7 separate regions of the Homo sapiens genome follow, and all the other regions are linked to region 4. Evidence: promoter capture Hi-C in 16 types of primary human blood cells and fetal thymus (Javierre and others, 2016). All regions are on one chromosome and are shown on one strand. The core of a region is centred on a gene start or on the middle of the fragment in contact, and the rest is flanking DNA. Distances in the headings are between cores, read along the strand shown. Region 1 has its middle 110 kb from the start of LINC01695. Region 2 has its middle 150 kb from the start of HEMK2. Region 3 has its middle 110 kb from the start of LINC00161. Region 4 holds the start of ADAMTS5 (ADAM metallopeptidase with thrombospondin type 1 motif 5). Region 5 has its middle 97 kb from the start of LINC01695. Region 6 has its middle 1.8 kb from the start of HEMK2. Region 7 overlaps LINC01695 (long intergenic non-protein coding RNA 1695).

Region 1 (3,268 bases), core at 38-2,537, 1.4 Mb before region 4:
GAGATGGAGTTTCACTCCGTCACCCAGGCTGGAGTACAGTAGCGTGATCTCGGCTCACTGCAACCTATGGCCCCAGGTTCAAGCGATTCTCCTGCCTTAGCCTCCAGAGTAGCTGGGATTACAGGTGTCTGCCACCACACCTATAACACACCACACTGCCAACACACTTGTGTTTTTAGTGGAGACGGGGTTTCACCATGTTGGTTGGGCTGGTCTCCAACTCCTGACCTCAAGTGATCCGCCCACCTTGGGCTCCCAAAGTGCTGGGATTACAGACATAACCCACCACACCTGGCCCCAGTGACAATTTTCTAATGGACATTCTTTTAGACATAAAGTCTTTCTCTAAATTTTAGGAATATACTAAGATTCTTTTCTCAAAATAATTAACTCATGAATAAAAAAAAGGTGATCTATGGGTGATATCGTTTGGCTATGTCCCCACCGAAATCTCAACTTGAATTGTAATCCTCATAACACCCCCATGTGAGAAGAACCCAGTGGAGGTAATTGAATCATAGGGGAGGTTTCTCCCAGTTGTTCTTGTGATAGTGAGTTCTCACGAGATCTGATGGCTTTATAAGTGTATTAGTCTGTTCTCACACTGCTAATAAAGACATACCTGAGACTGGGTAATTTATGAAGGAAAGAGGCTTAACAGACTCACAGTTCAGCATGGCTGGGGAGGCCTCACAATCATAGCGGAAGGCAAAGGAGAAGCAATGGTACGTCTTACATGGTGGCAGGCAAGAAAGCACGTGCAGGGAATCTCCTCTTTATAAAACCATCAGATCTTGTGAGACTTATTCACTATTTCGAGAACAGGACAGGAAAGGCCAGGCCCCACAATTCAATTACCTCCCACTGGGTACCTCCCATGACACATGGAGGTTATGGGAGCTAAAATTCAACATGAGATTTTGGTGGGGACACAGTCAAACCACATCATAGGAGCATCCAGCATTTCCCCTCCTGGCACTCATTCTATCTCCTGCAACCCTGTAAAGAGGTGCCTTCCGCCATGATTGTAAGTTTCCTGAGGACCCCCACCCCGCTGCCAGCCATGCAGAAATGTGAGTCAATTAAACCTCTTTTCTTTATAAATTACCAGCCTTGGGTATTTCTTCATAGCAGGGTGAGAACAGAATAATACAATCTTTTGTAAAATATGATCTCTAGTGATACCTCAAAATAGAGTTTTCAAAGCTTATTAGATTTTAATTGAGGAGAGGTTGGACTTCATGTATTTTATTATGCATTTTAAACATCCAAGGTTCAGAATAGCATGAAAATTCCCAGAGTTAGAACAAAAAATGCAAAAGATTATTGATTAATTCTGAGGATCATAAGCCAAAGAAGGAAAGCTTATTTAGTGAATTTTCATACATCACTAATTATATCCCATTTATGCAAAAGATTACTGACTAAACTTCGATGCATAAATAAGGATCTATCAAAATTTAAGTCAATAGAATGGCTGTCATGGGTTTTAACCTACAGGGCTGTTTAGTGGTAGGAAGAACTCTTGTGGCTTTATTCTGAGATAGGGCCCTCTTCGAAAGAAGCTCAGCACCATGGGAACTCATTTGAAACAGCTGCAGGCCCTCTGCTTTTTCATCTGTTGCCTTAAACTTCTTGTATTTTGACTAGCATGTCAAATTCATGGCTTCTGCTGTCTTCCTAGACAAATCTTTCATGACAAAGGAAAAACATTGCTGTGGTATCTCAGATCTCTCTCACTGAGCTTCAAAGAGCAAACAGTTAGAAGCCATATGGCAAAGTATGCTTTCTGTTAAATCTCTTGTTGGTCATTTCCCCTTCTAGGTTTCAATGAGTGTAATCCAAGATTGTGCTCAACAATCTTGTGTGAACCACAACAATTTCAGTGTGAGCCACACTGAATTCCTGGAGATGTGATCAAATCAAAACCCTACCTATTGTGTCTGGAAAAAAAGCCACATAGTGCTACCAAGTTTCGATTATAATTCTGTGTTCACAATCAAATTGTCATTGAAAGTCTCTTTTCTCTAAATATAATTTTAAAACATGTGTCTCAAGTTAGTAAGTGGGGTATATTATATGATTCCAAAGTTATGGCATATTTTTTATTTTTTAAGGAAGTTCTTTATATGTGATATGAAACTTCCCACTAAAACCAACAACTAGAAAATGTTTGAGAAACAAGGCATAATTTTCTTATGTTTTCCTCAAACATTTTCTAGTTGCATGCCTTAGAAATTTCAACTTTGAAAATCTGTTTTGCAAGATATATTCTTACAAATAACAATTATTTAAAGAAACTTATTGATTATATATGCTTAAGGGTATGGCAAATTTAAAATAGTATTTGTTATTCTGAGTAAAACTTAGAATAAATTTGTAGCGTTATCGGAAAGACTGGTTTATTTACTTATCTTAATCAATTTCTTTTTTTTATTTTAAATGTCTATCTAATGCAAAGAAGCCAATTATTCAAACTGGCATTTTAAATATATATAGTATATAACACGTATAATATATAAGAAAGAAAAATATTCATTTGGTCAGATTTTCAGAAATTTGAATTAATTTCAAAAACGCTGGCCGTGCGCGGTGACTCATGACTGTAATCCCAGCACTTTGGGAGGCCAAGGCGGGTGGATCACGAGGTCAGGAGGTCAAAACCATCCTGGCTAACATGGTAAAACCCCATCTCTACAAAAAAATACAAAAAATTAGCTGAGAGTGGTGGCAGGCGCCTGCAGTCCCAGCTACTCAGGAGGCTGAGGCAGGAGAATGGCATGAACCTGGGAGGCGGAGTTTGCAGTGAGTTGAGATTGCGCCACTACACTCCAGTCTGGGTGATAGAGTGAGACTCCGTCTCAAAAAAAAAAAAAAAAAAAGTTGCTTCGTAACCATCAAGTTTTCTACTATTATAGATATTATAGATTTTAGTAATTTATGTGATTTTTCTTTCTTATTACTGTATTGTATTATTGTAAAAAATGATTTGTCTACATGAGAAACTTTCTATTTGGCAGTTCTAAAGGAGTTCCTGAAATTTCTCAAACTCTATCCTTGAAATTTACTCAGGAAAACGCTTAATTCAAATGTGAACAAGACAAAGGATGGTTGTAGAACTATGAAAATATCTCCATGGATATTAAACCAATTGAATATGTTTGTGGGGTTGGATTATATGACAGTGAAAAATATGGATTGAAATATAGATAGGTACCTCCCCCCTTCTAATGCTCTTCAAAACACACTTAGGTTCCTTACTTTATCT
Region 2 (3,403 bases), core at 492-2,991, 1.8 Mb before region 4:
ATCCATAGTCAGGTTCCACAGGAGCTAATTCTGAATATGGTTCACTCAAGGCCACTCTGCCCAGGAAGTTGGGCAGAAGGGATCAATTCCCTTAAGAGGCATTGATCTGTTAGGTTCTTTCTTGCCTATCTAGACTTGAGCAGACTCCAGAAGAATAAAGCCAATAATTTCTAGGAATTCAATCTTGTAAACTTCTGGGTCAGGTAAAGATAGCAGGTTGCTTTTGATAGTTTTTGGCCTCATTTGAATTCTAAGCTTATGAAAACACTGTAGTTGTGAAATACTTTAGCATGAAGCCGAGGCTGGTGAAGGAAGGGTACCTTTTCTCTCCCACAAAAATCCTCTCCAACTAGATTTGATATATTTTGCATGGATTAATTCATAAACAATCACTATTGCCCATATGGAAGCTATGATAGCCAACGGACTGTAAAGTAGGCTGAAATCTGCAGTTGGCCCTCAGGTTTTGACCCACTGTCATTTGAATTCCTGCTTTATGTCAGCTCTCATAGGGAATAAGACATTCCAAAGGGTTACCCACACAATAAAGGACTTTGTCTATGTTCATGTGTTTTGGCCAGTTTGAAAATCTTATTGCGTGGTCTGGGCTACACAAATAGACAAAAGTAAATAGAGAAACCTGCTTCATGGAATAGCTTTGGAAACTGTGGTTGCTAAGATATAGATAGGCTTTAAGTAGAGAGAATTTCCATTATAAATATACTAAAAGGATCAGAAAAGTGAATTTACATGAAAAACATACACTGGGTGTTTGGAAAGTGCTTTTTCTATAGACGGTGTGTAAAACGCATATCAAGGGAACTCTTTGGGGGAAGACAAGAATTTACACAAGGTGTTGGGATGAAAAATATTGCTAACTTGTTTTAATTATTGGCTGAAACTTGATGGAAAGAGGAAAAAATCCTCCAGATGATACAAAGTAGACCTTTCTTCTCATGCTCCATAGAGGTCTTTCGGGAAAAATTTCCCATTTCTACTTATGTTTGGAAAACCTTGGGTGTGTATTTTCACTGTGTATTTAACCTTCTTTCCTGGCTTCTAGAACTGTGCTGTCCAATATGGTAGACACTGGCCATGTGTTGCTTTTGAGCACTTAAAATGTGGCTACTGTCGCTGAAAAACAGAATTGTTAATTTTATTGAATTTTAGTTAATTTAAATTTGAATAGGCACCTAGGGCTAATGGCTATAGGGACAGTACAGATAGAGAACATTTCCATCATCACAGAAAGTTCTGTTTAGACAGCACCCTGCTCTGGAGGGTGACCGGACAGTAATTTTTGCTCATAAGACTTGTTTTTAATATTGAAGATTTAGTTTTCTCCCAACTGATGAAGTTTAGGGAAAAATGCCACGAAGATGGCATTCAGATCTTATTAACATTTTCTCACTACTTATTTTTTCCCTCAGTTCTGAGTAATTCTGTCTATTTTTATCTATACCATATTATATTTAGTTCCTTCTAATGTAATTAAACAAAAATATCTTAATTTCAGAAAACACTTCTTTAATTAGTTGTGTTTGAAATGTCCTTACTAATCCTTACTATAATAACTGAATGGCCAATTTCATAGCCTCAGTGGGAAAAACGAAAAAAGAGAAAGACCTGTGTTCTTGATCTGTGCCAAACAGGAAAATACTGTGGTTCAGCAATAGAAAATGAAGAGGGAGGAAATGTTTCAGGTCATCAAATGGGGTCAGAAATACGCATGTCAATGTACTTTTGCTGCTCTCGCGAATTTCTCAAAAGGGTATCTGTGAATACCTAATTTAGGTTTTTTTGGTTTCATTTTAAGTACACATGAGCTTCTGGAAAGGGCGATATTTATATATTTTTTTCACTGTGGTTTACGATCCAGTGTAGGTATATTTCAGGATGTCACTCACAATTTCAATGTGGTCATAGAATTATTCAGAGAAAGCTAATTGAAAGCAAAATGCATTAAAATGACTAGGATTAAGCTGCCCACGGACACCAACTGTCTTGTTTTGTCCCCATTGTAAACACAAGTGCCCCAGAAGTGCATGTGCTGAAGTTGGCCTCTGTTGAATGAATGCATTTAAATGTGGAAGTTTTTGTATTATTATAGGATAAGAAATGTTGCAATTGCAAAAATGTTGGGGACTAGAGCCATCTCTGGGAGGTTTTCCTAGGACGTAAGCTCTGTTGTTTCGGAGTTCAGGGAGTGGGGCAGTGACCTGCATAAAGAGCCCCCAGGGAGAAGGCCCAGGGTCCTGGCTTCTCCGTGGGACTGTTTCCCGGGTCACAGAAAGGGAGACCCAAGTGTCAGAGATGGGCAGATTGAACTGTCCCTGCCGGTGTTTACAAGAGACACTTGACCTTGATGGAAAGCAGAGGGAGGACAGCAAGAGGGAGACGTTCTCTGTGTCCACATCAGCACCCTTTCCCCCTTCCTTGCCCTTTATCTTGTCTCATCCTTACCTTGTTGGAAAAACACATTGGCAACATCACAGCCCACTCAAAAGGTTGCCAACACCTTCTCCCAATAATAGCGATCAACATATGTAATAGACTTCAGCTGTCTTTTTGGGAGATCTGGCAACAAACTTAACTGAAAAAAGTCAGATTTTTACAAAGAAACACTGCTTTATTGCTTAAATGTGGAAATAATACAGAACACCAGCTAAGCTAATAGCTTTCTGAGAAAGAAAGTTCAAAGTGTCCATTGCTACTTCAATAACACATACATAAGTGGAAGGTGACCAAAAAGATGAACATGTAAAGAGGGGCCCTCATGTGTCGGCAAATTGTTGCTATTCTGAGCTCTCCACTTGCAGCAATTATCTAACTGTTGTTGGAAGAAGCTAAGAAACAATCCTCCAGCCCTCCCATAATGCCCTCTCCAAACAAATGAAAACACAGTGCAATTGGCTTTTCAGTGTTTGCTCCCAACCTGCCCCTTCCTGTGTTTCTCCCTGAACATGATTCTTTACTTCGTAGGTCATCCTCTCATCCTTGCATTCTTTGTGTATATTACTGGCTAGCTGCCAATCAGCAATGGACACCTCCCAGAGTTCTGGCAGACCTGGCTTGTGAAGTTAAGCAGGGCTTGGTGAATTTAGCTCACTTAACTGAGATATGAGAGCAGTGAAGTGATGTATGTAGAGAAAGGCACAGTTCTCCAGAGCTCTTGAGAATCCTTAAAATAAATATATGTTCCTTACAAATTTTCATCGTAAGCTTGGTGCACATTTCTAAGGCAGCTGGGGAATCATAGAGCAGCTCATCTTTTCTTCTTCTTTTTTTTTTTAACAGTCTATGGACTAATTAAGCTCTGAAAACCCATTAAAACACAAGTAGGCCATGATTTCAACACTTCTAAAGAAAAAAAGGCAGATTTTTGAATTCTCGTTTTCTCTGG
Region 3 (3,743 bases), core at 583-3,082, 1.5 Mb before region 4:
TGGTACTTGCCATCGTCTTTCCTGTGCATCCTGTGTCTACTCCCTCCCCTCCTGCAGGCCTCATTTCCCAGAGCCCCCTTGCAATACATACTTGCTTGTTAAGAAAGGTCTTACAAAATGCTTCTGCTTTTACCCTTCCTTTCTGGTAATAAAAATATATCTACTTGTATCCAAATCTCTGAGAATTTAGTTGGTTGAATTCCACAGGTGTGTGCCATATGAGCTCCAGTTGATTTGGTTGTGAAGTCTGGGTTGAGAGTTCTGTATCCACAGTGCATTAATCTTGAGATACATAAGCATCTGCAGTCAATTTAAGTAGCTTTTAGTTTTGGCTTTGGAGACAGGCAATTTCTCATATATTTCATGGAGAAGAAGAGAAGTTAGGATAAATTCCTAGACTATGTGTCCATAGTACACAAAACAGTAGGAATTTGTTGACCATCACTCATTTGATCAATTCTGATAGCCAGCATCTGTTTCTTTGCCTGAATTAATAAGCTTGGTGGCCTACATTGATCAAATTTACTGGAAAATTCCTAAATTGCAATTTCAATTTGTTTTGTATGAAAATGCCAATAGAAGGCACAATTAAAACAGATCTTCACATAATTAACAAAATAGGCCTTCATCAATTACTTGTGAATTTGGGGCAGAGTAAGCAACCAATGCTGAAATTAAGAAACCTTGTAAATAAGTCTCTCATGCATCTTTCATTAGAGAGCAACAGAAAACTATATTAGGCATGTGACCTTTTAATATATATTAAATATGTGTTCTGCTTTTAAAAATGTTTTAAAGAAAAGTTATTTATATAACTATGTATATAGTTATTTATATATATCTATCTATTTCTATGATGAGCTGTATAAGAAAAAATATAAATTGGTTGAGTTTCCCATTTCTATTTCTTTGTTAAAAAAAAAAGCCCATGTAGAAATTGTAATTATAGAAGGGCTTTTATATAGGTAGATCTTTGCACATAGATTCTGGCTAATGCACATAGATTTGGAAAGTCAAGTGGTTTAATGAACTAGAGGCTTCTTGGGAACCTCAGACTCTTTTTCAGACAATTTAAAAATTAAATCTTATATGAGGCTCAAGTGGGTCCAATAAAGAGAACTCTATTAAACTGCCTAAGTTCTGAACCAAGTGAGAAGACAAAAGATAAAAAAGAAGTGGAGCAAATTACCACATTTTTTTTAACCTAGTAAATCTGCTTTTGGAGAGTATGATTGCCAATTACAGCAGTCCTGGAAAACCACAAGTTTCCTCAATAGAGACAAGATCCTTTACAACATGGAGCAAAATGGCGCATATGAAAATTCATGCTACTTGCAAGCCTTACGCTTTTTAGATGAAGGAACTAGGAAGAGGGTGGGAAACATTTGTTCAGTTTCCCCTTCCAAACTCAATAACCAGTTTGTGGCCTGCTACTCCTTGAGGAATGAGTGCAGACACCGCAGAGACCCTGCACTGAAGTGAGCATTACTGGTGCCCGCTTCAAATGTAAAAGGCATGGAGTAGTCATTTACCCTTTACTGTGATAGGTTTAGTTAAATTTACTCATTAAGTATATTGTGGTACATAAAATAAGATTAGTTGTCTTAGTAGTGTGTTAATACTTATACAATGTTAAGTTTTTGGCTATGTTGAATTACTGAAATATCTTTTCCAAATCCTCTTCTTTTTGCAAACATACTCAATTGCAACAGACAAGACACATTTATCAGAGTTTCTGTGCTAAATATTTTCCTAAAGGGATAGTAACATTATCAAAATTATTATTCACAACTCAGGGCACATAGCTAAGAAAACTAAGATCGTGGTTTTTATGGAAAACTTCCAAATGAAAACTAAAAACACCAATATACAGATATGTTTGTATATGCAGACACTCGGTATTTTGGGAACTAAAGATCCAAATATTTGGGACAGGGCACAGTGGCACATGCCTGTAATCCTAGCACTTTGGGAGGCTGAGGTGGTTCACGTGAGCCCATAAGTTTGAGACCAGCCTGAGCAACGTAGTGAGACCTCATGTCTACAAAAAATAAAAAAAAAATTAGCTGTGTATGGTGATACAAGTCTGTAGTCCCAGCTACTTGGGAGGTTCAGGTGGGAGGACCACGTGAGCCCAGAAGGTCAAGGCTGCAGTGAGCTATGATTGCACCACTGCACTCCAGCCTGGATAACAGATCAAGACCCTGTTTAAAAAAATGAGTATTTGCTAAATTTTTCCACCTTTTGTCTGTGTGCATACCATGAGAACTTGACTATTTACATCATGTGTCTTAAATGAATAAGTATCTTCACCAACATCTATGCATTTTATCAAGACTTTATAAATTAGATTTGTTTATGAGGCACTTTTGTATTTTAAATTGAATATATAAGGAGTTACACTGTGAGCATAACACCTAAGGCTCCTTCTGTATATGTGTTCTCTGACTGCAGACTTAGAAGGTAGGAGATTTGGAGGGTCATAAGTGAGTGGGTCATGAAGGCCAAAGGTACATTACTGAATCAACTTGCAAACTGTGAGAAATGCTTGTTAGTTTAAAAGTAGTTTTAAAGATAAAACACTAATGATTAGCCACATGATTTTTGATAATATGACTTGCCCTTTTGAATTTCCACTAAACAAATAATTTTAGGATTAAGATTTTAGGTTAAACATGCTTTAAGCTAATAAGCATTTATCAATTGACCTTTCTAGATACATTTTATTTCCTTGGTGCACAGGATAGATAAGAAAATCCAAAGGAGTATGAATGAAAACAGTTACTGATTGCATTTCAAAATGAAGAAATTAAATTGTGTTTAATTTCTTTTATCCTTTGCCACTATTTGCATAGCTTTCATTATTTAAAGGGCCCAGCAAAAAATACTGCTTGTATGAATTAGCAGTAAACTTTTTCACTTGTTCACTTGCTACAGCTTTAAGCAATACATGTTTAATCAGAAACAGGCTAATTGTTTTTCAGATTTGTGTTGTGGTCTCTTGGCTTCCTGAGGAGGCATAAATAAAACCACTAAGCCACATCATAAAATACTTTATTTGCTTTGAGGTATTGGTTATTATTATTATGAGTGATATACATTCAGAAGAATGGACACGCTAAAAGACAACTGCGTCTTATGTTTCTTAACTGAGTGTAAATTTCTGGTTGTCCTACAGAACAATAAACTTTTGAAGACTGAATTTATGCAGTTTCAAGGCAAAAATTAGACATCAAAGTTGAGTTGAATGGTAGAGAGGTCAAGTAGTGGAGACGTGGGAGTATTATTCTGGGGTGATTTTGGGCTGTCTTTCTGGATATATATGAATTGAGTCATTAGCTGTTATTTGAACTTGAAACCATAATCTGAATGCATGGTACTTAGGATTGATGTGACCTCAATTTCCTTTTAACAGTGTTGAAACTGGGGTCTCTGGTCATCAGACTTTGTCATCTTCTATCTATATTCAACTTGAATGTGTAAATAAAGCAATGAATATTACTTTGTGCCTCTGTTGTTTATATAGGTGTTTATACACTCACAACTTCCTCTTGTTGAAGAGGTTGAAAAATTATTTGTACACTCACAACTTTCCTCTAGTTGAAGAGTTTGAAAAATTATTAATTATGTTTCCCAGATATGCTTGCAGCTGCGGTTTAGAAGAAATGACGATCCACCAATTAGACTGATTTCCATGAAATCTGAAAGGCGGGTGTGAGGGAGAAGTCATCCTTTTGTAGCTT
Region 4 (3,410 bases), core at 228-2,727:
ACCTCCATCAAGCTCTGGACCCTCATGGTTCCCTCCCAGAGAAAGCGATCAGCTTGGGGCCCCATTAAGGCACCCGCCCTGCTATCCCCAGCGTAGCCAAAGTTAAACGTAGAAAAAGATGGAAATGTACAAATTACACCACATTCATTTTTCACTGGTGCATTAGTTAATTAGCCTGAAGAATAATTTGGGCATGGAGGGAGCTCTTACCCCTACAGTAGAAGGTAGACCTTCTAACCATAAGTCGTCGGGTTTTCCTTCTCCCTTCTTAGAATGATAATTAGAGGAAACAAAGAGGTCAGAGGAAACGAGTAGCAGTGATAATGTCACCCGCGTACTAATAAGCACCAATCTTCCTTCCGCCAAAAGTATTCTTTTTCTTCTAAAAGGAATTTCTGAGAATGAAGGTAGGTCAAGGCCTATGGCGATAAGTGGTTGCTTTAGAAGAGACAAAAACAGATATAGGAATTTATTATTAAAGTATCATTTAAGCAAAAAATAAAAGTATGAGCGCAAAATTTTAAAATCTTTCAGGGAAAAAAAATGAGCGGAATTCCCTCTAAGAGTTAACTCTTTCTCGCTCTGCCTTTTTAGAGCAAAGGAAGTTCCAGTGGGCTGGGAGTAAGGGACAGATTGTGGACCCTGACGAAAGGCGTGCTGGAGAAAGCTGGGAGCCCGCCGTTCGCACACAAAGCTGCGGAGTTCCCAAGCGGCGGGCGTTCTCGCCCCGGGGTACCGCAGCGCGCCAGGAAGCGCCCTGGGCTCTCTGGCTGTCCAGCCGCTCTGCTGGTGGCCGGGAGAAGTTAGTCACCCGGAGCCCGAATCCGGCGAGCGTCAAAGCATCAAGAGGCTGGAGAATGGGGAGGGAGGAAACCGGGTGCCGGGACGGAGGGGAGGAAGCGAAGGGAACGCGGTGGTTAGGGGACGCACGGGAAGCTGAAAAGCTCTGGCTGGTGGATGGAGTTGCACGGTCTGCGAGGCCAGAGCGCACGGGTGTGCAAAGGGGAAAAACTTGCGGCAGGAACTTCCCACCGAGGGCGAGAAAAGCAGGCAAGAAGGAGGCAGGGAGAGACTTGAAACGTCTCAATAACTTTAACCAAAACACCCGTTCAGGAGATGAGGTAAGCCAAGGTTAGCCAACCCCAATTGGTTGTGAAATATCAGACAGACCCGGAGCCGCTGTGGCTTTAAAAGTGGCCAAGGAAATCTGTTTTTCTTGCCCCATTACTTTTTATTTTCCCCTCTCCCCTCCTACCACCTCGCCGGGTCCCAGTCCCTTCCTCCTACTTCGTCTCCCTTTCCTCGATCACCCTCCTCTTTTGCCCTCCCCCATCTGATTAGGCGCGGACTGGGAAGGGTGGGAGTGGTGGGGGAAGCTCTCCCTTTAAGAGGCAGCGTGCAGTGACGAACTGTTGAAATTGCCATTGCAGGATGGCATGCCGCTATAAATTCATTGTTCCACCTCCTCGCATCTTCACAGCGCTCGCGCTGCTCTCGGCGCTCGCAGCTGCCGACTGGGGATGACGGCGGGCAGGAGGAGACCGCAGCCGAAGGGACACAGACACGCCGCTTCACCAGCTCGCCTCAGGCTGCCCCCCTGCATTTTTGTTTTAATTTTTACGGCTTTTTCCCCTCTCTTTCTTCCCTTCCTCCTGGTCCCAGCAGAGCCAAGGAAACCCACAAAATAAGAAAGGAAGTGGGCCCCGGAGCTTGGAACCTCCACAGCCGGCTTGTCCAGCGCAGCGCGGGGGCGGGAGGCTGCGCGCACCAGTTGCCAGCCCGGTGCGCGGTACCTTTCCTTACTTTTCTTGAAACAGCGATCGTGCCTGCATTTGGTGGTTTTTTGGTTTTTGTTTTTTTCCTTTTCCCGTATTTGCTGAATCTCCACTATCCGACTTTTTTTTTTTAATCTTTTCTTTCCCCCCCCCCCCACCCCACCTCTTTCTGGAGCACGAATCCAAACATTTTCCCAAGCAACAAAGAAAAGTTCGCACGCTGGCACCGCAGCCCGGACAGGCTGGCGCTGCTGCCGGGCCCCCCTCCCTCCGACACTTGACTCAATCCTGCAAGCAAGTGTGTGTGTGTCCCCATCCCCCGCCCCGTTAACTTCATAGCAAATAACAAATACCCATAAAGTCCCAGTCGCGCAGCCCCTCCCCGCGGGCAGCGCACTATGCTGCTCGGGTGGGCGTCCCTGCTGCTGTGCGCGTTCCGCCTGCCCCTGGCCGCGGTCGGCCCCGCCGCGACACCTGCCCAGGATAAAGCCGGGCAGCCTCCGACTGCTGCAGCAGCCGCCCAGCCCCGCCGGCGGCAGGGGGAGGAGGTGCAGGAGCGAGCCGAGCCTCCCGGCCACCCGCACCCCCTGGCGCAGCGGCGCAGGAGCAAGGGGCTGGTGCAGAACATCGACCAACTCTACTCCGGCGGCGGCAAGGTGGGCTACCTCGTCTACGCGGGCGGCCGGAGGTTCCTCTTGGACCTGGAGCGAGATGGTTCGGTGGGCATTGCTGGCTTCGTGCCCGCAGGAGGCGGGACGAGTGCGCCCTGGCGCCACCGGAGCCACTGCTTCTATCGGGGCACAGTGGACGGTAGTCCCCGCTCTCTGGCTGTCTTTGACCTCTGTGGGGGTCTCGACGGCTTCTTCGCGGTCAAGCACGCGCGCTACACCCTAAAGCCACTGCTGCGCGGACCCTGGGCGGAGGAAGAAAAGGGGCGCGTGTACGGGGATGGGTCCGCACGGATCCTGCACGTCTACACCCGCGAGGGCTTCAGCTTCGAGGCCCTGCCGCCGCGCGCCAGCTGCGAAACCCCCGCGTCCACACCGGAGGCCCACGAGCATGCTCCGGCGCACAGCAACCCGAGCGGACGCGCAGCACTGGCCTCGCAGCTCTTGGACCAGTCCGCTCTCTCGCCCGCTGGGGGCTCAGGACCGCAGACGTGGTGGCGGCGGCGGCGCCGCTCCATCTCCCGGGCCCGCCAGGTGGAGCTGCTTCTGGTGGCTGACGCGTCCATGGCGCGGTTGTATGGCCGGGGCCTGCAGCATTACCTGCTGACCCTGGCCTCCATCGCCAATAGGCTGTACAGCCATGCTAGCATCGAGAACCACATCCGCCTGGCCGTGGTGAAGGTGGTGGTGCTAGGCGACAAGGACAAGAGCCTGGAAGTGAGCAAGAACGCTGCCACCACACTCAAGAACTTTTGCAAGTGGCAGCACCAACACAACCAGCTGGGAGATGACCATGAGGAGCACTACGATGCAGCTATCCTGTTTACTCGGGAGGTAGGTCCAGCCGGGATGCGGGGGTCCCAGCGCTGATATCAGGAGGTAGGTAGAAGGGAATCTTGCTGGTGGCTTTGCTTCTCCCTCAAACCTCCTGCAGCTGTGGATGTGTTTAACTGCTTCTTGCAGGAAA
Region 5 (3,379 bases), core at 147-2,646, 1.4 Mb before region 4:
GCTCAGAAACAGCAATGATTAAGAAATTTTAAGTAGATTTGTAGCACAGTAATGGGTTTTCAATCCTTTAATTTTACTTACCATCTCTACAAAGAAGGTTTGAGATTGACTTTGACTTCACATATTTCCATATTTTCAAAATTACAGAAATGGATCTTTTTTACTAGTCGAACATCCAGAATTAAAGTGAGCAGCTCATGAAACAGGCAAAGAAAACACAGTTGAATCAATCAACTTAGTATTAAATCTTGTGGGTAAAAAGCCAGTACTAAGGAAGTGGCCACCAGGAATTTGACTGTTCCCACTGATAATGGAATTTGGGAAGGGCTACTAATCACATGGTTTTGCCCTCCCTGGGCTCCAGAATCTTGATTATAACAGTCAGGTAACTTTATCCTCTGTAACCACCTTAGCTCATGCTGATTTAGTCTTCATCTTCTCTGTGGTTTGATCCTTCTTGTCTCAGTAAAATTATTCCATTTTGTGTTCTCTCACATGAGTCATTTCCATTTCTAAAATCAGTATCTCTTAATGGTATTTTGCTTCCAGAAAGATGGAGTAGATATATTCCTGCTAAATCCAACTGAAAACCTTGAAAATTATATGTAAAACAAACCTAGGAAGACCTGAAAAGTGTAAAGAAGTAGGAAAACTAGCTAAGGAACTTGAGGACCAAAGAATGACATGGTGGTAGGTTTTCTATGTTTTCTCTTTGCCTCACGTATTTCCGACGTGGAGCTACAGAAGCTGGAAAATCCCAGAAATGCCAAAGGATGCAAAAACAAAAATCCTTAACAAAAGCCTACTGGCTCTAGTCAAAGTTTCAGGAAAGACACATACTAGCAAGAAAGAAAACTTCTATATAATAACTCTTCCACCCTGACCAAATATCACAGAAAAAAATCTGTAGTCCACTTCCACCTTAGCTGGCAAAAGCTAAATGAGGAGCATAGATTTTCATTCTTTTTAAGCTATAAAGAGGTGTCTCAAACTCTCTCTAGGGTGATGTCAGAGAAGACTGAGTAGGAAGGTGTAACTTTGTTCTCTGCTAAGGATAATGAGTCACACTTGTGGCTCCTATTGTGTCAGTGAATACCACCTGAGGAGCTTTGCTTTTCACTCCCACCTGGTAATAAAGAAGAATGCTCTTTCTGGTGGTGGTAGAAAAGGCCTAGAGGAGAGTCTGTACTTTCATCATTGCCCATTTTCCCCTCCCTATGGTGTCAGTGGAGGCCACATGGGGAGCAATAACAAAAGCACGCCCATATGATATCAGCAAATGTCTAGTGGGGGCATGAAAATCCCTCACTTGCCCAACAGTAACAAGGAGCTTTTCTCCTCTTTGACTATTAATAGAGGATAAGTAGGGAACTTGAAATTCTATCCTCACTTGCCTTCTGTCCCTGTAGAGGAAACCAACTGAGTAGGTTTACATAGGATCCAGTCTCATAGTTCCAAAGGGTTCAGGTTTTAACAGAATATCACATGTCACAAAATGGCCAGGAATACTTCTAACTGAATGAAGAAAGAAATCAAGAGATGTCAACACCAATACAATGTAGATACTGGAATTATGTGACAAATCATTATAAAAATGCTTCTGAAAGTAATTACAAATAAACTGGAAATAAATTAAAAGAGAAAAGTCTTAGTAAAGAAATAGAAGATAAAATAAGAGCGAGATGAAAATTTTAAAGCTAAAAAATACACTAACCAAAATAGAAAACTCAGTGGATTAGTTCAACAGCAGAATAATGAGGATAGAAGGATGGATAAGTAAACAGGATTAGAGTTCCAGAAGGAAAGAACAAAGAAGGGAGGGGTAAAAAAAATACACAAAAAAATGACCAAAAACTTCCCAAATCTGGCAAAATACATAAACCTACAGATTCAAGAAGCTGAGAAAAAACCCATACAATATAAACCCAGAAAAGTCTGCATGAAGATATATCATACTCAAACTTGTAAAAACTAAAGGCAAATACAAATGATAGAAGCAACTGGGGAGAAATGACATTTTGGCTATAGGAGTAAAACAATTTGAATGATATTAACTTTTCAATCAGAAATCAGTGCGTCAGCATTTTTTTAAGTGCTGAAAGAAAACTGTCAGCTCAAAATTCTAAATACCATTTACATTTCTATTAAGAATCAAAGCTAAATGATGACATTCTCTGAAGAAGGAAAGCTAAGAGAATTTATCACCGGCAGATATATTCTAAAAGAATGACTAAAGGAAATTATCCATGTTAGTTAGCATAGGCTATTAATATACCATAGTCTGGATGGCTTAAACAACAGACATATTTTCTCACAGTTTTGGAGGCTAGGGGTCTCGGACAAAGACACCAGCATGGTTGGTTTCTGGTGAGGTTTCTCTTTCCTTCTTGTAGGCAGCTGCCATATTGTTGTGTGTTCACATGATCTCTTTGTGTGTGTGTGTGTGTGTGTGTGTGTGTGCAGAAAGAGAGAGAGACAGAGACAGAGAGGGCGGGAGAGACAGAGAGACAGCTTTCTAGTCTATCTTCTTAAAAGCACGCTAATCCTATTGTAAAAGTGCCCTAACTTTGTAACTTTATTTAACCTTAATTACCTCCTAATAGGTCCTGTCTTCAAATACGGTCACATTGGTGATTAGGACCTCAATCACCAATTTTATATATAAATTTTGAGGGGACATAATTCAGTGAGAATTCACTTCAAAATTGGGTCAGAATTTATCATTCACTAAACAGAAATGAAATGATAAAAAAAGAAATTTTGGAATATCAGAAAGAAACAACAAGAAACAGCAAAAATATGGATAAGTAAAAGACTTACTCATATTTTCTTCTTTTCTTGGGTTTTCTAAGTCATGATTGACAGTTGAGGCAAAAATTATTACACTGATGTGATTCTAATTGCTTAGAACAATATTAAAGACAATTATTTTATAAATGAAAGAGGAAAAAAGATGTGATGAGAGGAAAGCTTTAACGCTTCACTTTAATTGGTAAAATGTCAACATCAGTAGACTATAATAAGTTTTGTACTATAATACCTTGAGCAACCACTAAAAATGCTATAACAAGAGATATGTAAAAATTATAGTATATGCATCAAAATAAAATTCTAAAATAATTGTCACATTGCTCATAAAAAGGCAGGAAAAAAGAAAACAGGAAACAGAACAAAGAGAAAAGAGAGGGAGCAAAATAAAACTTAAATGGTAGATTTAAATGCCAGCATGTTAACAGTGACATTAAAAGTAAATAAATACACACATGAAAAGACAAAGATTTATAGGGTGGATTAAAAATATATGACTGAGCTATATGCTATAAAAACTCACTTCGAATACAATATAAATAAATTAAAAGTAAAAGGATGGAAAAGATAT
Region 6 (3,187 bases), core at 530-3,029, 1.9 Mb before region 4:
AATTGGCAACCTAATTTCCGATGCAATGAAAAAGGTCAGAAGAAAGGGTTTCACCACAGTAAAGATGGAAAAACGCTACCGATGAATTAGAAATTATTGAAGGCATGAGGCCAGGTGTGGTGGCTCACGCCTATAATCCCAGCACTTTGGGAGGCGGAGGTGGGCGGATCACGAGGTCAGGAGATTGAGACCATCCTGGCTAACACGGTGAAACCCCGTCTCTACTAAAAATACAAAAAATTAGCCGGGTGTGGTGGCATGCACCTGTAGTCCCAGCTACTCAGGAGGCTGAGGCAGGAGAATTGCTTGAACCCAGGAGGTGGAGGTTGCAGTGAGCCGAGATTGTGCCACTGCACTCCAGCCTGGGTGACAGAGTGAGACTCCATCTAAAAAAAAAGAAAAAAAAAAAAGAAATTATTGAAGGCATGAAAGTTTGAGGATATATTTCTCCATACTTTATTAATACATCAAAAGGTCGGAAATGTGAATTCCAAGAAAATTTCTAGTGTCCAGTCCATTGTACCTGATCTTGAAATTGCCAATGCTCACCGTAAGCTTTTGGTCATAATTGCTGAAAATGTTGATGGAGAAACTCTAAGTACACTCATTTTGAATAGGCGAAAACTTGGTCTTCAGGTTGTAGCAGTCAAAGCTCCAGGGTTTGGTGACAATAGAAAGAACCACCTTAAAGGTATGACAATTGCTACTGGTGGTGCAGTGTTTGGAGAAGAGGAGTTGACCTCAAATCTTGAAGATGTTCAGCCTCATGACTTAGGAGAAGTTGGAGAGGTCACTGTGATCAAAGATGATGCTATGCTCTTAAAAGGAAAAGGTGACAAGGCTCAAATTTAAAAACGTATTCAAGAAATCATTGAGCAGTTGGATGTCACAACTAGTGAATATGAAAAGGAAAAACTGAATGAACAGCTGGCAAAACTTTCAGATGGAGTAGCTGTGCTGAAGGTTAGTGGGACAAGTCACGTTGAAGTGAATGAAAAGAAAAACAGAGTTACAGATGCCCTTAATGCTACAAGAGCTGCTGTTGAAGAAGGCATTGTTCTGGGAGGGGGTTGTACCCTACTTCGATGAATTGGTGCCTTGGACTCATTGACTCCAGCTAATGAAGATCAAAAAATTGGTACAGAAACTATTAAGAAAACACTCAAAATTCCTGCAATGACTATTGCTAAAAATGCGGGTGTTGAAGGATCTTTGATAGTCCAGAAAATTATGCAGTTCCTGAGAAGCTGGTTGTGATGCCACGGTCAGATTTTGTGAATATGGTGGAAAAAAGGAATTATTGACAAAACAAAGGTTGTGAGAAGTGCTTTACTGGATGCTGCTGGGGTGGCCTGTTAACTACAGCAGAAGTTGTAGTCAAAGAAATTCCTAAAAAAAGAGAAGGACCCTGTATTGGGTGCAATGGGTGGAACGGGAGGTGTTATGGGAAATGGCAAGTTCTAATGATTAGAATAGCGTTTTACTTTAATTAATGAACTGTGGCAGGAAGCCCAAGGCAGTATTCCTCACCAATAACTTCAGAGAAGTCAGCTGGAGAAAACGACTGAAGAAAAGGCTAGCAGATGTTTAGGAAATCACTATAACAATCAGTTACTGGTTTCAAGTGACAAAATATATAATGTTTTACTGCTGTCACTGTCCATGCCTACAGATAATTTATTTTGTATTTTTGGATAAAAAGACATTTGTATATTCCTAATACTGGGTGCGAGAGCACCTATGGTTCCAGTTCCAGCTACTCAGGAGGCTGAGGGAGGAGGATCGCTTGAACCCAGGAGATCAAGTACAACTCTTTCTATATATATATATTTTTCATATTTTTACATAATAAAATTCTATATGGCAGTTAAGAGGAGTAACCTAACCATATATCAAAACATAAATCTCATATAATGTTGACTGAAAAAGAAATTTGAAAAATATGTCCAACCTAGTACCAGTTATGTAAATTTTAAAATACACCGTATGTTGCTTATAAAGATATGAATGTTTATAAACGTATAAATACAAGATCCATGTTTTTACATGGATTAGATGGACATACACTAAATCCATAAGAGCCTTGGAGAGAATGTTACACAATTAAACTGAAGGCAAATAGAGAAAGAACATCCATCTTATTTGTAATATTTTAGTTCTTGTATTTAAAAAATATTTTAAGGAAACATGAGAAAATACTGTCATTTCTGGGTTTAAAACTTGGGGTTTTGAAATTTGTAACCCAGCCGGGTGCGTTAAAGGCTCACACCTGTAATCTCAGCACTTTGAGAGCCCAAGGCGGGTGGATCACCTGAAGTCAGCAGTTTGAGACCAGCCTGGCCAACATGGGGAAAATCCGTCTCTACTAAAAATACAAAAATTAGGCAGCCGTGGCTGCAGGCGCCTGTAATCCCAGCTACTCCGGAGGCTGAGGCAGGAGAACCGCTTGAACCTGGGAGGCAGAGGTTGCAGTGAGCCTAGCTCGCGCCACTGCACTCCAGCCTGGGGGATACAGCGAGACTCTGTCTCCAAAAAAAAAAAATACATAAGTAGAAATAAAATAAAATAAAATTTGTACCTCAAATACTTTTCTGTATTTTTATTTCTCAAATTTAAAAAACGAGCTGTAAAAATGTTTCATTGCGAAACAAATTTCAGAAATTGACTCAAAAAGAATGCAAATACTTGAATAGTCTAATAACTTACAGATGTTCCAAAACATCAAAGATCCATTCACTCAAAAAGGCACCAAGCCCAGCCAGTTTTAAGGCTTTCTACCTAATGTTCCAGAAACAGTGTCCTAACTCACATAACGAGGGTAGCGTAATCTTGGTAAAAAAAAACGGAGCCAGATTATTAGCCTCCCCAATTCAGCAGTGTATTAAACCGCATCATCTTGCTTAAGGTTTATAAAAAGAGTGCATTCATGATTCATCAGGAAGGCAATTTATAAAGTACAGTAAAAAAACGAGGAAAGTCTTCATCTTTATAGCGTAAAGCTTAAAGTTCAGCTGACAAAAAAACAGTAAAATTTATTATGTATTTTTTCAAATCCTTGCAAACTAGGAATAAAACAGAATTTCCAAATATCATTAGAATGAAGAAAGAACATTCACCTTAGTCAAAAACAACTCAGAATGCCCACTATCAGGTTCTAGTTCACAGAATAAAATTTAAATGTTCCAAA
Region 7 (3,249 bases), core at 508-3,007, 1.3 Mb before region 4:
AAAACCTGACTTGTATTGGACATATCTTGGCAAGTTATCAACATTCCAGGATTAAAAAAAAAATCTTCAGGAACCCAGGCAAAAAAGCAAGACCGACTTCAAGAATGAAATAAAAAAAAATTCTAGCTATATGCAGAACCAAAAGAAAATGGGTAATTGTTTACAACGTTCTGAATGAGCTAAGAACATCACATGAGCCAAATTGATGTCATTTAAGCATGAAGTCAACATTTTCAGTATTCTAAGAATAGCAGCTAGCACCCACTGAATAGTTGCTCTGGGTTAAGTCCTTTTCTTTGGCCTTTACAGGTATTATTGCACTCAATCCTCATAATAATCTCACGAGAGAAGGTACAGTTGTTATGAACAGGTAACTCAATAGACCTCTCTGTGTCACCTAGCATTTCTCTGCTTAAACACTGGGAATTGGGGCCTGTGGTCAAGCAGAGCCTAAATTTGCAGAAATGGAAAAATACAGAACTTGCAAACAGGTTGTGATGGTTAATACTGAGGGTCAACTTGATTGTATTGAAAGATACAAAGTATTGATCCTGAGTGTGTCTGTGAAGGTGTTGCCAAAAGAGATTAGCATTTGAGTCAGTGGGCTGGGGAAGGCAGATCCACCCTTAATCTAGTGGGCACAATCTAATCAGCTGCCAATGGTAAAGCAGGCAGAAAAACGTGAAAAGGGGAGACTGGCCTAGCCTCCCAGCCTACGGCTTTCTCCTGTACTCGATGCTTCTTGCCCTTGAACATTGGACTCCAAGCTCTTCAGTTTTGGAACTTGTACTGGCTCCCCTTGCATGGTCTCCACTCCTGCCACCCTGCCTTCTCTTCCCCAGCCTGCAACAATGGCCTCAGAAGGAGTTCCCTATGATCATTTGACAGAGGAAGAGAAGACTATGGCCAGGTTCACAGATGGTTCTGCATGACATGCAGGCACCACCTGAAAGTGGACAGCTGCAGCACTACAGCCCCTTTCTAGGACATCCCTAAAGGACAACAGTGAAGGAAAATTTTCCCGGTGGGCAGAACTTCGAGCAGTGCACCTGGGTGTGCACTTTGCATGGAAGGAGAAATGACCAGATGTGTGATTATATACTGATTAATTGGTTGTAGCCAATGGTTTGGCTGGATAGTCAGGGACTTGGAAGAAGCATGATTGGAAAATTGGTGACAAAGAAATTTGGGGAAGAGGAATGAGGATGGACCTCTCTGAGTGGTCAAAAACCATGAAGATATTTGTATCCCATGTGAGTGCTCACCAACGGGTGACCTCAGTAGAGGAGGATTTTAATAATCAATTGGATAGGATGACCTGTTCTGTGGACACCACCCAGCCTCTTTCCCCAGCCACCCCTGTCATTGCCCAATGGGCCCATAAACAAAGTGGCCATGGTGGCAAGGATGGTTGTTATGCATGGGCTCAGCAACATGGACTTCCACTCACCAAGGCTGACCTGGCTGTGGTCACTGCTGAGTGCCCAATTTGCCAGCAGCAGAGACCAACACTGAGCCCTCGATATGACACCATTCCTTGGGGTGATCAGCCAGCTACTTGGTGACAGGTTGATTATGTTGGACCTCTTCCATCATGGAAAGGGCAGAGGTTTGTCCTCACTAGAATAGACACTTACTCTGGATATGGCTTTGCCTATCCTGTATGCAATGCTTCTGCCAAGGCTACCATCTGTGGACTCATGGAATGCCTTATCCACCATCATGGTATTCCACACAGCATTGCCTCTGACTAAGACACTCACTTTATGGCTAAAGAAGTATGGCAGTGGGCCCATGCTCATGGAATTCACTGGTCTTACCTTGTTCCCCATCATCCTGAAGCAGCATTGAGAGAATGGTGGAATGGCCTTTTGAAATCACAATTACAATTCCAACTAGTGACAATACTTTGCAGGGCTGGGCAAAGTTCTCCTGAAGACTGAGTTTGCTCTGAATCAGTGTCCAATATATGGTGGTGTTTCTCCTATATATCCAGGTTTCATGGGTCCAGCAATCGGGGGGGGACGTGGAAGCGGCACCACTCACCATCACCCCTAGTGATTCACTAGCAAAATTTTTGCTTCCTGTTCCTGTGACATTACGTTCTGCTGGCCTAGAGGTCTTAGTTCCGGAGGGAGGAACGCTGCCACCAGGAGACACAACAACAATTCCATTAATTTGGAAGTTAAGATTGCCACCTGGACACTTTGGGCTCTTGCTACCTTTGAGTCAACAGGCTAAGAAGGGAGTTACAGCGTTGGCTGGGTTGATTGACCCGGACTATTAAGATAAATCAGTCTACTACTGCATAATGGAAGTCAGGAAGAGTTTGCATAGAATGCAAGAGATCCATTAGGGTGTCTCTTAGTATTACCATGCCCTGTGATTAAAGTCAGTGGGAAACTACAACAGTCCATTCCAGGCAGGACTACAAATGGCCCAGACCCCTCAGGAGTGAAGGTTTGGGTCACTCCTCCAGGAAAAAAACCATGACCTGCTGAAGTGCTTTCTGACGGCAAAGGGAATACAGAATGGATAGTAGAAGAAGGTAGTCATCAATACGAGCTCCAACCATGTTACCAGCTGTGGAAACAAGGACTATAATTTTCATGAGAATTTCATTCTTCTTTTGTTAAAAACATGTTTGTCTATGTATACACTTGTACTAAGAAAATATTTTTATTTTATTTTATTTTATCATGTGACATAAGGTTTATTGACTTCATATCAGCATTTAAATATTGTTAACTTTTTGTATTAGTATTTGGGTTGGGGATTGGTGCATTTCCAGTTGTATGAAGGATAGTTGTATTATATCAGGCAGAATTACGACCTTATTATTATCTTTATTTGGAGATTATGATCTCAGGAGATGTGTATGGGTTCAAGTTGAGAAGAGGTGAAGTTGCGATGGTTAATACTGAATGTAAACTTGATTGGATTGAAGGATACAAATTATTGATGTTGGGTGTGTCTGTGAGGGTGTTGCCAAAAGAGAATAACATTTGAGTCAGTGGGCTGGGGAAGGCAGATCCACCCTTAATCTGGTGGGCAATTTAATCAGCTGACAGCAAATATAAAGCAGGCAGAACAATGTGAAAAGGAGAGACTGGCCTAGCCTCCCATCCCACATCTTTCTCCTGTGCTGGATGCTTCCTGACCTTGAACACTCGACTCCAAGTTCTTCAGTTTTGGGACTCAGACTGGCTCTCCTTGCTCTTCAGCTTACAGACAGTCTATTGTGGGACC

Evidence for each region. Contacts are between HindIII fragments. The CHiCAGO score rates a contact against its expected background, and 5 or more counts as called.
Region 1: a contact is called between a fragment that was not itself captured here and the fragment with the promoter of ADAMTS5 in region 4, in 2 of 17 cell types (M1 macrophages and M0 macrophages). The highest score is 8.6, in M1 macrophages.
Region 2: a contact is called between a fragment that was not itself captured here and the fragment with the promoter of ADAMTS5 in region 4, in 1 of 17 cell types (fetal thymus). The highest score is 5.9, in fetal thymus.
Region 3: a fragment that was not itself captured here is called in contact with the fragment with the promoter of ADAMTS5 in region 4 in 1 of 17 cell types (erythroblasts); the score reaches 5.2 in erythroblasts.
Region 5: a contact is called between a fragment that was not itself captured here and the fragment with the promoter of ADAMTS5 in region 4, in 3 of 17 cell types (M2 macrophages, M0 macrophages and M1 macrophages). The highest score is 7.9, in M2 macrophages.
Region 6: a contact is called between a fragment that was not itself captured here and the fragment with the promoter of ADAMTS5 in region 4, in 1 of 17 cell types (M2 macrophages). The highest score is 5.6, in M2 macrophages.
Region 7: a fragment that was not itself captured here is called in contact with the fragment with the promoter of ADAMTS5 in region 4 in 1 of 17 cell types (M1 macrophages); the score reaches 5.9 in M1 macrophages.

What each region holds. Positions count from the first base shown.
Region 1 is chr21:28,340,894-28,344,161 of GRCh38, reverse strand. No RefSeq gene overlaps it. Among named protein-coding and RNA genes, the nearest start is that of LINC01695, 110 kb to the right of the region's middle. The HindIII fragment of the contact is 158 bases long and covers 1,209-1,366 here.
Region 2 is chr21:28,737,482-28,740,884 of GRCh38, reverse strand. It overlaps a transcript of HEMK2 not described here. Among named protein-coding and RNA genes, the nearest start is that of HEMK2, 150 kb to the left of the region's middle. The HindIII fragment of the contact is 2,967 bases long and covers 258-3,224 here.
Region 3 is chr21:28,423,274-28,427,016 of GRCh38, reverse strand. No RefSeq gene overlaps it. Among named protein-coding and RNA genes, the nearest start is that of LINC00161, 110 kb to the left of the region's middle. The HindIII fragment of the contact is 3,983 bases long and covers 1-3,743 here.
Region 4 is chr21:26,965,155-26,968,564 of GRCh38, reverse strand. ADAMTS5 (ADAM metallopeptidase with thrombospondin type 1 motif 5) reads left to right here and starts at 1,477. Exons shown (of 8, transcript NM_007038.5): 1 at 1,477-3,277. The coding sequence starts at 2,174. LOC124905050 reads left to right here. Exons shown (of 3, transcript XM_047441063.1): 2 at 595-1,121; 3 at 1,481-1,909. The coding sequence ends at 1,909. The HindIII fragment of the contact is 6,499 bases long and covers 1-3,410 here.
Region 5 is chr21:28,323,588-28,326,966 of GRCh38, reverse strand. No RefSeq gene overlaps it. Among named protein-coding and RNA genes, the nearest start is that of LINC01695, 97 kb to the right of the region's middle. RefSeq lists an enhancer at 821-1,435. The HindIII fragment of the contact is 3,152 bases long and covers 1-2,972 here.
Region 6 is chr21:28,885,557-28,888,743 of GRCh38, reverse strand. It overlaps the pseudogene HSPD1P7. Among named protein-coding and RNA genes, the nearest start is that of HEMK2, 1.8 kb to the right of the region's middle. RefSeq lists an enhancer at 2,960-3,187. The HindIII fragment of the contact is 2,444 bases long and covers 558-3,001 here.
Region 7 is chr21:28,217,764-28,221,012 of GRCh38, reverse strand. The region is part of intron 2 of LINC01695 (long intergenic non-protein coding RNA 1695); the gene reads left to right. Among named protein-coding and RNA genes, the nearest start is that of LINC01695, 9.3 kb to the left of the region's middle. The HindIII fragment of the contact is 6,620 bases long and covers 1-3,249 here.